Linked DNA regions of Homo sapiens: region 1 is linked to region 2. The links are contacts of gene promoters, found by promoter capture Hi-C in human tissues and cell types (Jung and others, 2019). All regions are on one chromosome and are shown on one strand. The core of a region is centred on a gene start or on the middle of the fragment in contact, and the rest is flanking DNA. Distances in the headings are between cores, read along the strand shown.

Region 1 (2,742 bases), core at 192-2,691, 150 kb before region 2:
CATCTGTAGTTACAGCCACTCCTCATCACTCGCATTACCACCAGAGCTCCACTCCCTGTCAGATCAGCGGCGGCATTAGATTCTCATAGGAGCTCGAACCCTATTCTAAACTGTTCATGTGAGGGATCTAGGTTGCAAGCTCCCTATGAGAATCTAATGCCTGATGATCTGTCACGGTCTCCCATCACCCCTAGATGGGACCATCTAGTTGCAGGAAAACAAGCTCAGGGCTCCCACTGATTCTACACGATGGTGAATTGTGGAATTATTTCATTATATATATTACAATGTAATAATAATAGAAATAAAGCACACAATAAATGTAATGTGCTTGAATCATCCCGAAACCATCCCACCCTGGTCTGTGAAAAAATTGTCTTCCATGAAACCAGTCCCTGGTGCCAAAAACGTTGAGGACCACTGCTCCACAGAATCTATCGGTCACTCTTCCTCCCCTCACCCCCTTGCCCTAAAAGCACACCCTGCAAACCTGCCATGAATTGACACTCTGTTTCTATCCCTTTTCCCCTTGTGTCTGTGTCTGGAGGAAGAGGATAAAGGACAAGCTGCCCCAAGTCCTAGCGGGCAGCTCGAAGAAGTGAAACTTACACGTTGGTCTCCTGTTTCCTTACCAAGCTTTTACCATGGTAACCCCTGGTCCCGTTCAGCCACCACCACCCCACCCAGCACACCTCCAACCTCAGCCAGACAAGGTTGTTGACACAAGAGAGCCCTCAGGGGCACAGAGAGAGTCTGGACACGTGGGGAGTCAGCCGTGTATCATCGGAGGCGGCCGGGCACATGGCAGGGATGAGGGAAAGACCAAGAGTCCTCTGTTGGGCCCAAGTCCTAGACAGACAAAACCTAGACAATCACGTGGCTGGCTGCATGCCCTGTGGCTGTTGGGCTGGGCCCAGGAGGAGGGAGGGGCGCTCTTTCCTGGAGGTGGTCCAGAGCACCGGGTGGACAGCCCTGGGGGAAAACTTCCACGTTTTGATGGAGGTTATCTTTGATAACTCCACAGTGACCTGGTTCGCCAAAGGAAAAGCAGGCAACGTGAGCTGTTTTTTTTTTCTCCAAGCTGAACACTAGGGGTCCTAGGCTTTTTGGGTCACCCGGCATGGCAGACAGTCAACCTGGCAGGACATCCGGGAGAGACAGACACAGGCAGAGGGCAGAAAGGTCAAGGGAGGTTCTCAGGCCAAGGCTATTGGGGTTTGCTCAATTGTTCCTGAATGCTCTTACACACGTACACACACAGAGCAGCACACACACACACACACACATGCCTCAGCAAGTCCCAGAGAGGGAGGTGTCGAGGGGGACCCGCTGGCTGTTCAGACGGACTCCCAGAGCCAGTGAGTGGGTGGGGCTGGAACATGAGTTCATCTATTTCCTGCCCACATCTGGTATAAAAGGAGGCAGTGGCCCACAGAGGAGCACAGCTGTGTTTGGCTGCAGGGCCAAGAGCGCTGTCAAGAAGACCCACACGCCCCCCTCCAGCAGCTGAATTCCTGCAGCTCAGCAGCCGCCGCCAGAGCAGGACGAACCGCCAATCGCAAGGCACCTCTGAGAACTTCAGGTAGGAGAAAAGCAAACTCCCTCCAACCTCTTACTTCGGGCTTAAGGCAGAGAACTCGCCTCCCCAGAATCTCCTCCCTCCATGATCCCCCGCTATTCCTCTATTTTCTTTTCCTCGGACCTGCAGCCTTGGGTCGACCCTGCCCTAGGGGTGACTGCAGGAGAGCAGGGAGGATGGTCAGGCGTCACCAACAACCCCATCACCCAGTAACAAGAACCTTGACTCTCTCAGTCCCTCTGCATCAAGACACTTACCCATTTCCCACCTCATGCCTGCTAACTTGAATGAAACAATCGCTGGGAAAGCATTAAGAGAATTAAGGCTGGGCACTGTGGCTCATGCCTGTAATCCCAGCACTTTGTGAGGCTGAGGCAGGCAGATAACTTGAGCCCAGGAGTTTGAGACCAGCCTGGGCAACATGGCAAAACCCTGCTCTCCCAAAAAAATACAAAAATTAGCTGGGCGTGCTGGTGTGCCTGTATTCCCAGCTACTTGGGAGGCTGAGGTGGGAGGATTGCTTCAGCTGGGGAGGCGGAGGCTGCAGGGAGCCAAGACTGAGCCATTGCACCCAGCCTGGGTGACAGAGCAAGACCCTGTCTCTAAAAATGAATGAAAGGAAGGAAGAAAGAGAGAGAAAGAGAGAGAGGAAAGAAGGAAGGAAGTAAAGAAGAAAGAAAGAAAGAAAGAGGAAAGAGGAAGAAAGAAAGAAAAGAAAGAAAAGAAAAGAAAGCAAATTTAAAGCTTATGCAAATCAAAGATGTTGTGATAATTGATAATTGAGTCTGGGCTAAATTCCCCCTGGGCTGCAAAGGCAGAGAGTGGTAATGACTTCTCACCTGCTTTTCTTCTAAGGCTTTTTTACGGGACACAGAGGGAAGGGAGATGGACTGGATTCCAAGATTCCCACAGGGCAAGATGGGCGAAGACTCCCTGCCACTGCCCGGGGATAAGTCAGTCTGAGTGAGACGGAGTGGGATGGGCTTAGAACCTGAACATGTCATGGTCTCTTCCTGCACCTTGCCCTAGTGTTCACTTACCACCTGCTTGCAGGAAACAAGAAGAGCAGGGCCCACAGCTGGCCAGCTCCCCTCCCCTCCCGCCTGTCTTCCAGAACGATTCCTTCACCAGCCCTCTTTCCATTGCTCTAGGATGCAGATGTC
Region 2 (2,704 bases), core at 195-2,694:
TGCAACAGAATTTAGAATTTATTCAATATTACAGTGTTTGTATCACAGAGAACATCTTTGTCATTTATATAGGCAATTTTCCCTGGGGCTTCCATGCTATTGAACACTGTAACATTTATTTTGGAGAGAATCCCTGGGGATGGGGGAGGCATTGTCAACATTCCAATGCAGCATCAGCTAATTCAGATGCAACAAAGACTCTATCAATGCAGAAACGTGCAAAGAGCTTTCGGGAAAGTACAGCTCATTCAACATCGGAGAATTCACAATGGAGGAAAATCATATGTGCGTAATGGATGTAAAAATGCTTTGAGATGGTGCCCAGAGCTAATCAGACATCTGGGATTTTGTAGCAGAGAGAGGCCTTGTGAGTATAATGGATGAGGAAGAACCTTCAATCAGAGTTCCATACTTAGACAATATCAGCTAATTCAGTTGGGACTTAAAATGGTCATACGTAATGAAGACGGAAAACTCGGGGAAGCGTGGAGAATACGGAATGTGAGATCATCCACACTGGAGAGAAGCCTCGGGAGTATAATTAGTGTGGAAAATCACTTGGGGACAAGCTTAGCTTTTTCATCATTGGAGAATTCACACAAAAAAAGGAATGAGCTTGGACAGATCGTGGGAGAACTTTCAGGCACTAATCAGGCCAATTCATCCCCGAGAAAAACCTTGATGACGAAGAAGGGGAAAAAGTCTTCCAGTTTTTTTCCTTATTGGATTTCACAGAATCCTCAGTGATATATAGAGAAACTTGCTGGAGGAGTTCAGGGTTTATTAATATTCACATTAAAGCATTAATCCCATTAAAGTAGGGGTTTAAACTTTTTTACTTCTTTCACCCCAATCAAAGCTTTCATTCCTTACATCTCTATTGAGTGAATGAAGCAACAGGCAAACATCAATGGTGCATTGGCTTTGCCCTTCAAAACGTCATACAAGCCGGGTGTGGTGGCTCATGCCTGTAATTCCAGCACTTTGGGAGGCTGAAGCGGGTGGATCACGAGGTCAGGAGCTCGAGACCAGCCTGGCCAACATAGTGAAACCCTGTCTCTACTAAAAATACAAAAATTAGCCGGGCATGGTGGCACATGCCTATAGTCCCAGCTACTCAGGAGGCTGAGGCAGGAAAATCTCTTGAACCCAGGAGGCGGAGGTTGTGGTGAGCCGAGATCATGCCTCTGCACTCCAGCCTGGGCAACAGAGCGAGACTCCATCTCAAAAAAAAAAAACAAAAAAACAAAAAATCATACAATATGTGGGGTGCAGGACAGTATTGAGAGGTGCTGGGTTTGGTGCCAGAATCTGGCAGTTGCAAATTCTAATATCATCGCAACACACGCGTGGGTGGGCCCCATATATCTGATGAACTTCCAGGGGCCACATCTCTACAAATGCTGAAGATTATTTGGAGATGGGAAAATGGGGCTGGGGGTGCTTTTTCTCCAGGTCTGAGAAAAATGAAGTAATGTGTATTTCTTTCTTTCTTTTTTTTTTTTTGAGACAGAGTCTTGCTCTGTCACCCAGGCTGGAGTGCAGTAGCACGATCTTGGCTCACCGCAAGCTCCACCTCCCGGGTTCACGCCATTCTCCTGCCTCAGCCTCCCCAGTAGCTGGGACTACAGGCGCCCGCCACCACGCTCAGCTAATTTTTTGTATTTTTAGTAGAGACAGCGTTTCACCGTGTTAGCCAGGATGGTCTTGATCTCCTGACCTCGTGATCCGCCCACGTAGGCCTCCCAAAGTGCTGGGATTACAGGCGTGAGCCACCGCGCCTGGCCAGTAATGTGTATTTCAAAGATACATTAGGAGGATGCCAGTTTATCTTTGTTTTATATTTTCAAAAACAGAGATTTAAAGAGGACGGGCTAGAGCTCTTGCATTCAGCTTCTCATTTCATAAGGGAAGAATCAGGCATATGTCTTGTGTTGAAGCAACACACACACACACACACACACACACACACACACACACACACAACGCGTTGTTTGGCGAAAGTCGGACCAGAAGAAAGCTTTCTCTAATCCTCATCAACTGATTGCTTCTCTCCTACCAGCCTCGTTCCTTGTCCTTGGACCAGCATTCTAAGTCTTCCAAAATACATTCTTGCCTCTCCCTACAGTAACTCTCCCATTGAGTTCTTAATAGAGGTGAGTTAGGTTTTGCAGATTTCTGGCTCCTCGCTCTGCTTAGAGAAGCCAGAAAGAGGCCGGGCACGGTGGCTGATGCCTGAAATCCCAGCATTTTGGGAGGCTGAGGCAGGTGGATCACGAGGTTAGGAGTTCAAGACCAGCCTGACCAACATGGTGAAACTCCGTCTCTACTAAAAATACAAAAATTAGCTGGGTGTGATGGTGCATGCCTGTAATTCCAGCTGCTCAGGAGACTGAGGCAGGAGAATCACTTGAACCCGGGAGGCGGAGGTTGCAGTAAGCCAAGATTGTGCCATTGCACTCCAGCCTAGGCGACAGTGAGACAAAAAAAAAAAAAAAAAAAAAAAAAAAAAAAAAGAAGATGTCTGGAACTTTCCCAGATATCTCTTTCTTTCCTTGTCTGTGTCCCCTAGGCCTTGGGGTTAGGACTCAGAGCTGGGATTCCTCTGTAGGCAAGGACCAATCCTGATTCTTATTCCTTCCATATAAGCAATAATTCCATTTCTAATGTCTAAACTTAGGTTGATTTTCCACTGGGAGTTATA

Evidence for each region. The method cuts DNA at HindIII sites, captures the fragments that hold promoters and counts their contacts. A contact is called where the count stands out against the background at its distance.
Region 1: a contact is called between the fragment with the promoter of SERPINE1 here and a fragment that was not itself captured in region 2, in 7 of the 25 tissues and cell types used here (H1 embryonic stem cells, aorta, bladder and 4 more).

What each region holds. Positions count from the first base shown.
Region 1 is chr7:101,125,663-101,128,404 of GRCh38, forward strand. SERPINE1 (serpin family E member 1) reads left to right here and starts at 1,442. Exons shown (of 9, transcript NM_000602.5): 1 at 1,442-1,582; 2 at 2,731-2,742. The coding sequence starts at 2,732. RefSeq lists enhancers at 318-1,097, 1,878-2,657, 2,658-2,742. The HindIII fragment of the contact is 16,005 bases long and covers 1-2,742 here.
Region 2 is chr7:101,273,154-101,275,857 of GRCh38, forward strand. No RefSeq gene overlaps it. Among named protein-coding and RNA genes, the nearest start is that of LNCPRESS1, 25 kb to the right of the region's middle. The HindIII fragment of the contact is 4,444 bases long and covers 1-2,704 here.